Linked DNA regions of Homo sapiens: region 1 is linked to region 2. Evidence: promoter capture Hi-C in 16 types of primary human blood cells and fetal thymus (Javierre and others, 2016). All regions are on one chromosome and are shown on one strand. Each heading gives the region's core, a stretch centred on a gene start or on the middle of the fragment in contact. The rest is flanking DNA. Distances are from core to core; before and after follow the strand shown. Region 1 holds the start of SLC25A42 (solute carrier family 25 member 42). Region 2 holds the start of SUGP1 (SURP and G-patch domain containing 1).

The links. The method cuts DNA at HindIII sites, captures the fragments that hold promoters and counts their contacts. A CHiCAGO score of 5 or more calls a contact.
Region 1: the fragment with the promoter of SLC25A42 here is called in contact with the fragment with the promoter of SUGP1 in region 2 in 1 of 17 cell types (M1 macrophages); the score reaches 5.4 in M1 macrophages.

What each region holds. Positions count from the first base shown.
Region 1 is chr19:19,062,081-19,066,159 of GRCh38, reverse strand. SLC25A42 (solute carrier family 25 member 42) reads right to left here and starts at 2,166. Exons shown (of 8, transcript NM_178526.5): 1 at 2,045-2,166. LOC124904655 (a long non-coding RNA gene) reads left to right here and starts at 2,635. Exons shown (of 3, transcript XR_007067160.1): 1 at 2,635-2,970; 2 at 4,009-4,079. RefSeq lists silencers at 1,995-2,264, 2,525-2,694. The HindIII fragment of the contact is 7,903 bases long and covers 1,294-4,079 here.
Region 2 is chr19:19,317,644-19,321,758 of GRCh38, reverse strand. SUGP1 (SURP and G-patch domain containing 1) reads left to right here and starts at 1,250. Exons shown (of 14, transcript NM_172231.4): 1 at 1,250-1,296. The coding sequence starts at 1,263. It overlaps MAU2 (MAU2 sister chromatid cohesion factor), which reads right to left and starts at 930. Exons shown (of 19, transcript NM_015329.4): 1 at 624-930. The coding sequence starts at 899. RefSeq lists a silencer at 550-771 and enhancers at 143-1,114, 823-1,312, 1,333-1,382. The HindIII fragment of the contact is 18,112 bases long and covers 1-4,115 here.

The DNA.
Region 1 (4,079 bases), core at 917-3,416, 260 kb after region 2:
ATAGGCCGGGTGTGGTGGCTCACGCCTGTAATCCCAGCATCTTGGGAGGCTGAGGCGAGCAGATCACTTGGGGTCAGGAGTGCGAGACCAGCCTAGCCAACATGGTGAAACCCCGTTTCTATTAAAAATACAAAAATTAGCTGGGTGTGGTGGCACATGCCTGTAATCCCAGCTACTCAGGAGGCTGAGGTAGGAGAACTGCATGAACCCAGGAGGCAGAGGTTGCCGTGAGCCGAGATCACACCACTGCACTCCAGCCTGGGCAACAGAGCAAGACTCCGTCTCAAAAAAAACCCAAAAACTATATACTCAATGATCTTGCCAAAGTTTATACACATGTACATATATAACACACACGAAATATGTATATATAAAATATGTATATAAACATATGAATATTATAGGTACATGTACATATGTGTACAACACACACACATATACATACATATATACATACATGCCCATATATGTTTTAAATGACTCCTATTGAAGTTGGACAGAAAACCCAAATGGCTTCAGTTTCCACAGGAGAAGCTGAAGGTGACATGACCCTCTGAAACATTCTGGTACCGTCTTTGCAGGGAGCGGTGGGAGGGGGTAAGAAACGCTCCAGGAGCCTTACAGGAAATGGCACGTTATTGCTTTTCAACAACAAAGCCACTGTCCTCCTTCTATGCTGCATGCTTGCAAATCAGACTCAAGGGAACTAAAAAATTCCAGAAGAATCATTCCTAGCACCACCCAGGCTCGTTTTGCAGGTTAGCTTTAAACAGCTGAAACATTAGTTTGCCTCACTCTAAAGAGTGTTTCCTTACTCTTTATCGGCTTCAAGGGCCCAGGGAGTGTCGGAGAGGGGTCCCGGGTCTGCAAGAGCTGGGAGCCCCGGCCCCGGCAACCCCCTCTCCGGCATCCTGCAGGAGGCACCCAAGATGATGAGCCCCCCTCCTCCGGCAGCGTCTCCACCGCCAGCCTGCCCCAGGACTCCGAGACACACGCTTGGCAGAGGGGCCGTCCCTTCCAGCTAAGCCTTTCCGGACCCAGTCAAAGTCACGACTCCTGCCAATCCCTCTGAGATAAACATAACAGATGGGCCCAAACGCGGTGGGTCCACAGCAGAGGGTCAGCGATGCCCAGGGTAGAATAGGCTCTGCCTCTAGCATTCAAGTGGTTTAGGTCTGTGGCTGGTAAAATGGAGATGATTCCGGTTTGGTCTGACAGATGGGATTATTCTAAGGTCCGGAAATCACTTTATAGACTGTCAAGCACTGTTAGAAATGAACACTGGGGTAAGCTTTTGTTTGGGGAGGGGAGGGTGCAGCGATCCTGAGATACCAAGGCTTGGGGGACTATTGGAGGACCTGGGGGATTCGGGGGGATTATTACAGAGGGTGTGCGAACACAGGTGCACGTGGAAGAAAGCCCAAGGTGGGAGAGAGAAAAGGGGGAGACAGAGGTGTGGGGCTGCCAGGGCAGAGGGCAGGTGCCAGGGGGAAGGTCCCTGAGAAGAGAGACACAGGTTGCTGGGGGAGTGGGCACGAGAGTAGCGAGCAGATACCTGGATATGAGGAAAGGCAGTGGGGGACGGGACTAGGTCCAGGTGTGAGTTGCGAGGCCATGAGTTAGGAGTCACAGGCTCAGGTGTGGGTGTGGGGGTGTCATCGACAAGGACAGACTCAGGTGATGTGGGGGGTGTTCGTGAGTGGGGGCGGGTGTTCGTGAGTGGGGGCGCGGTGTCAGGTGTGTGAGGGGGATGTCAGACCCAGCTGTGCGGGGCGCCGGGGACAAGGCCCCAGGGGTGTGGGAGATGTCAGCAAGGACAGTCTAAAGTGTATGGGGGATGTCAACGAAAAGGGACGTGGTGTCAGGCGTGCGTGGACTGCGGGTGACGGGCTCAAACCTGGATGCAGTAGCCCCCAGGGGGCAGTAGACGTGGAGTGTGGGGTTGGGGGGGGTCTTTAACCTCTTCCTGCCCTCGCGACGCTACTGTCATGCCCCGCCTCATCCGCCCCTCGCCCCGGGATCCATGACAGGACCCGTGCCTCACCTCAGTTCAGCCCGACAGGCGCGGGCCGCTGACGCTTGGGCCCCCCCGGCGCCCCCCGCGCCCCCTCACCGGCCCGGACGCGTCGCCGCCGCCGCTACCTCCAGCCGCCACGGCCCCGCCTCGCGCACCCCCAGAGCGCGCCACGGGAGGGGTCCACGCCACGCCCCGATTGGCTGCTCCCTGGCCAGTCAGCGCTGGAAGCGACAGTGATTGGCGAGTATGAAGCAGATGGGCAGCCCCTAAAGCCAATCGCTGATTGGCAGAGGTGGGGCTATTGGGAGAGGCCTGGGGTGCCTGAGTGGTCCCTCAGGGTGCTAGGCGCTGGGAGGCGAGGGCCTGGAGGCAGGCGAGGATTGGAATCTTGGCAGAAAACAGGCAGAACTGTCGGCCAATCGCTGGGGGCCAGGGGCGGGGCTACGAAGAAACTGGCGCTACCGGTGGGGCAGAGGCGAGAGGAACGGAGGGCGTAGCTTGGGGGGAGACCGGGATTGGCCGCAAAGCCGAAGACTGGCAGGCCCCGCGGCCAGTCGCAGCGGCCGTGGGCGGTACGCCCCCAGGGGAGGGCTGGAGCGTTCAAGGTGCAGTCCGACCCGGAGCGCGGCAACCCGACGTGGCCTCGGACGCCTGGCGCAGGGTCCCCTGAGGCTCTCGTGTAGAGCCCGCCCTCTGGCCACCTAGCACAGAAGCGGATGTGAACTTGGACCATCAAGGCTGAAGGACTCCTGGATAATTCTCTATCCCCTTACTCCCCACTAATCCCCTGCAGACGACACGGAGAGGGCAGATTCGCTGGAGGTCACTCTGAACTGCCCTCTCCATCTCGAGGTGGTGTGAAGACATGGAAATAAGGGGCGGAATCCTACTGAAACGCGCTGCGTGGTTTTCTGAGTGTCTGACCTCTCTGCGTCCCAGCTTTCCCCGCCACGGTATCCAGTGACATCCCTGTTGGGCCTTCTCCCTGCCAAGTCTTTTTTTGAATTAACTGAATCTTAACCACAATCCCATGAGGTCAGAGAGACCACTGGCTCCTTTTACAGAAACCAGAGCACAGAGAGGTCAAGCTCCTTGCCCAAGGTTACACAGCATTCTCTGGTTGCTAAACCAGAGAATGAATCTAGAGCAGCCTGCTTTTTGGAAAGAGTGTGTCAGAGAAGAGCCACTGGGGGCCTCAGAGACCTGGGTTTGAATCCTTGTCCAATCACTGGCCCACCACACAACCTTGGGCAAAAGCCCTTGTGAGCCTCAGCTGTTTCATTTGGAAAAGAGGGGGGAAAATGATTCCTATGCCTTGATCTTTCCTCTCTGGGGTTGCTTCCCTGGGAAAATTTACAACTCAGCTCTCATTTTAATTATCTGGTGAAAGCATTTGACCCTGAGCAGGTCATGTGCGGCCTGTGAGCCTCAGCTCCTCTGTGAAGTGCAGAAAAATGCCGGCAGTTTAGGGAGACACCTGCCATCCCAGGCATGGCTGTGTCATCGGCACCTCCCCCGAAGCCACTCTGTTCTATGACTCACCCTTCATCTTCAGGATGGAGAGGGCTACAAATGTTTCCAGATACCAGCTCTTATTTCCTCTAGGTGCTGGCCAGGGTTGGTGGAGATCAAGTTCAGAACCAGGGAATCCTGGGAGGGAGCAAGGCTGAAACCAACCTTAGAAAGGGCTCACATTTCAGGGCTGCACAAGCCCCTGCTAAGTGTGTGATCCACAAGTTTCAAATGGGGAGGATGTGACGGGAAATCACTAGCCCAAGGCCATCATCAAACTCCTGATATTCTCACGATATGCCTACCTGGACCTCCTCTCCCATACCTCCCACCTGTGGTTTGCTTCCTGGCAACTTCCAGGATCTGGCCTCCATTCTGCCCTCCAGAGAAGAGGGGGAAGCTGAGGTCAGTTGAACATCAATTGGGTGCCAGGTCCCCACTGGGCTTTCTCCAATACCATCTCCCCACCTCACTTCCAGGTGGACGTGACAGTGCCCACTTAGCAGATAAGAAAACTGAGCCTATGGTGGAGAATATTCCTTGGTGGAAG
Region 2 (4,115 bases), core at 1-2,500:
AAATGACCAACTCCAGACTCCGGGTCTCAGCTTCCCTCGTACGACACCAGGCATTATTGATGGGGGCACAAGACCCTCCAAAAACCACGATTACCAAACTTCTGTGTCCAAGGAGAATCATGCCCTTCCAGGTTCCTGAGAGACCAGACTTCAGATTCCCGGGAGAATGCCAGGGGTCTCGCCTTCGCCAACCCCTACCCCAAGTCACTTTAGGTGGAAGCGTTTGGGGCTGATGCTCCGGAAGCTGAACCAGGAGGAGCTAATAGCTTCAGGACCCTGTGATGTCCCCATCGCCACCAACAGGTGGGATCCTCCTGAAAACCAGACGATTTGCGGATCCTGTTGCTCCCAATAACAGGCAACTTTCAGAGTACGGTGACGGGGCTCCTGGAGCCCTGTCACCAGAAACGGGAAATAAGGCGTGGGGGGCGAGGCTTTCGTGTCCCTTGAGAGGCTGGTGGCTTTGGGGTCCGGCAGAGGCGGGTGGGGGTCCTGCGGCTTTGACGGAGGTCGCGCCCCCAGGTCGCCGAGGAGCGGCCCCCCACCCGCCGCGGTCGCGACCCGTCAGCCCAGATCTTGCAAGGAGCCCGCGACTCCTCCCTCGCGGCCCGGCCCGCGCTCACCGCCTTCTCCAGGTGGCTGCGCGCCTGCTCGCTGTTCTTGGTGTGGTGATAGAGAACGGAGCCCAGCTGCAGGTGTGTACGGGCCTCGATGCGCTGCGGCGGCTTGAAGGGGAACACGGCCTGCAGGCAGTGCACGCACAGGCGGATTTTGGGCGGGCTGGAAGTGCGGAAGTGCTCAGCGAAGCCCAGAAGCGCCAGGTACCACGAGTCGGCCGCCTCGGCCTGCGCAGCCTGGGCCGCCGCCGCCTGGGCCGCTGCCGCCGCCTGAGCCGCCATTTTGGCCTCCACAACAACAAGCCGCCGCCACAGGGAGGCGGAAGCAGGCGCGCGAGACGGGGCCGGGCTCTCCTCGCGGCTTCCGCGAGATCTGCCGCCCAAAGCATCCTGGAACATGTAGTTTGTATTTGGGATGACTGCCGCTCCGGGAAGGTGTAAAAGGGCGACGCCGTTTGGTTATCGTGACTGGGACTTAGGCATCGCTGATAGGCTGAGGCTTCCGTTTCTGGAGGTTAAAAAAAAAAAAACCCAGTCGTTCACGCAGTAATAGGGCGAGTCTGACCGAGGCGGACTACATCTCCCATCAGGCGATGCACACTATAACAGGGCCCCTTAAGGGGCGCCGGAGCATTGTGGGATTGGATGAGTCTCAAGATGGACAACCGGGATGTTGCAGGTAACAGCCCCCGCCTCCTCTCAGGCGGCCGCCTGGGTCCCTGGGGCTAGGTGTCTCCCCTGACTCCTCGGGTCCGTCCTGCTGCGACCCGTGGATCCCTCGCTTCAGCCCCGGGGCAGCCCACAGCGTCGGCTTCTGCACCTCTTGGTTTCTCGAGACCCCAGACCCAGGTTGCTGGCCGCCCCCGCTTGGTTTGCTGAGGACGCACGGATCTCCGTAGAGGCCGCCACCCGGCTCGGCCCTGCGTCCCGTTTCCGAAACAACCGCCTTCAGGGCTGCTCCAACCTCCGTTCCCCAATACGGCGACAACCTTGGGCTGTCCCTGCACCCCTCTTTTCGTCGCAGCTGGCCTCTGGCCTGTGTCCCGCTTTCTGGAAAAGCTGCTTTTCCGAAGTGCTTTGAGGCTCCCTTGACACACTTTCCCGCGTCTTTTGACCCTCACTTTGCTGCAAGCCTTGGCCTTTCTGCTTCCCCAGAATAGAATGCATTTACCCATCAGCAGATACTTAGGGCGTGCTCACTGTGTGCCAAGCAGTGTGCTGGGCGCTACGCATGCAGCGGTGACCGAAACAGGGCCCTGCCTTCCTGGAGGTTGCTTTCTACTGGGGTGTCAGTGCATTAATGAGAAAATATTTACAAAAACTTACGTATGATGTGAGGTTACGTATGATATGATCAGAGTGGAGGCTTCTGATATTGGGTAGTCAGGAAAGACCTTTTCTTTCTTTCTTTCTTTTTTTTTTTTTTTTTTTTTTTGAGACAGGGTCTCACTTTGTCGCCCAGGCTGTAGTGCAGTGGCTCACTGTGGCTCCCTGGGTTCAGGTGATCCTCCCACCTCAGCCTCCCTAGTAGCTGAGACCACAGATGCGCGCCACCACACAGCGAATTTGTGTGTTTTTTGTGTTGCCACGTTTCCCATGCAGGTCTGGAATTCCTAGGCTCAAGCGATCCTCCCATCTCAGCCTCTTAAAGTGCTGGGGTTACGTAAAGGTGTGAGCCACCACACCTGGCCCAGGGAAAGGCCTTTTCAAGCAGAGGACATTTGAGTTAAGACAATGAATGCCAGCTATGGGAATCCCTGGAGGGTGGAGCCTTCCACACAGAGGGGGGCCAGTAAATGCAGAGGCCCTGGTAGGATGGGCTTGTCCTTTTGAAGAATGTCAAGGATGAAGCAGAAGGGAGGGGAACCATCTGGCGGGGCCTTGAAAATGGCCTTTTAGAATTCTTTTTTTCTTTTTGTTGAAGCGGAGTTTCGCTCTGTCGCCCAGGCTGGAGTGCAGTGGCACGATGTCGGCTGACTGCAACCTCTACCTCCCGGGTTCAAGCCATTCTTCTGCCTCAGCCTCCTGAGTAGCTGGGATTACAGGCGCCGGCCACCGCACCTGGCCAGTGTTTTTGTGTATTTTTAGTAGAGACGGGGTATCACCATGTTGGCCAGGCTGGTCTCGATCTCCTGACCTCAAGTGATCTGCCTGCTTCAGCCTCCCAGGTGCTGGGATTACAGGTGTGAGTCACCATGCCCGGCTCAGACTTTTAAAATTTGGATTTTATTCTGAGTCCCATGGGGAACCTCTGAGGTGTCTTCCCTGTCTCCATACTATCACCCTAGTCTGAAGACATCATTGTCTGTTGCTTGGAGCCAGTGAGCCTCCCTGGTCTTGTTGCCTGTGGATTCTCTGGCCAGAATGATTACCTAGTAGCCAGGATGAAAATAAAACGACCCTGTGGATATTGGCTAGGTGTGGTGATCCATGCCTAAAATCTCAGCATTTTGGGAGGCTTAAATGGGAGGCTCCCTTGAGGACAGGAGTTCAAGATTAGCCTGGGGAACATAGCAAGAACCTGTCTCTACAAAAAATAAAAGAAAATAGCTAGGCCTGGTAGAGTGTGCCTGTAGTCCTAGCCACTCGGGTGGCTGAGGTGGGAGAATCTCTAGAGCCCAGGAGTTTGAGGATGCAGTGAGCTACGATCATGCAACTGCACTCCTGCCTGGGCAACTCAGCGAGACCCTGTCTCAAAAAAACAAAACAAAACAAAAAAAACGGCTGGGTGTGGTGGCTCACGCCTGTAATCCCAGCACTTTGGGAGGCTGAGGTGGGTGGATCACTTGAGGTCAGGAATTCGAGACCAGCCTGGCCAACATGGTGAAGCCCCATCTCTACTAAAAATATGAAAAAATTAGCCAGGCATGGCGGCAGATGCCTGTAGTCCCAGATACTCGGGAGGCTGAGGCAGGAGAATCGCTGGAACTCTGGAGGTGGAGATTGCAGTGAGCCAAGATCGCGCCATTGCACTCCAGCCTGGGGGAAAAGAGCAATACTTCATCTCAAAAAAAAAAAAAAAAAAAAAGAAGGCTGGGTTCGGTGGCTCACGCCTGTAATTCCAGCGCTTTGAGAGGCGTAAATTGGAGGTTCCCTTGAGGACGGGAGTTCGAGACCAGCCTGGACAACATGGCGAAATCCTAACTGTACTAAAAATATAAAAATTAGCCAGGTGTGGTGGCTCACGCCTGTAATCCCAGCTACTCAGGAGGCTGAGGCAGGAGAATCGCTTGAACCTGGGAGGTGGAGGTTGCAATGAGCCGAGGTGGTGCCACTGCATTCCATCTTGGCTGACAGAGTAACAGTTCGCCTCAAAAAAAAAAAAAAAAAAAAGCCACTGGGGCACGGTGCCTCATGCCTGTAAATCCCAGCACTTTGGGAGGCCAAGGTGGAAAGAATGTTTGAGACCAGCCTGGGCACTATAGCAAGACCTCATCTCTATGAAAAAATTTAAAAATTAGCCAAGTGAGGTGGTGCATGCCTGTAATCCAAGCTATT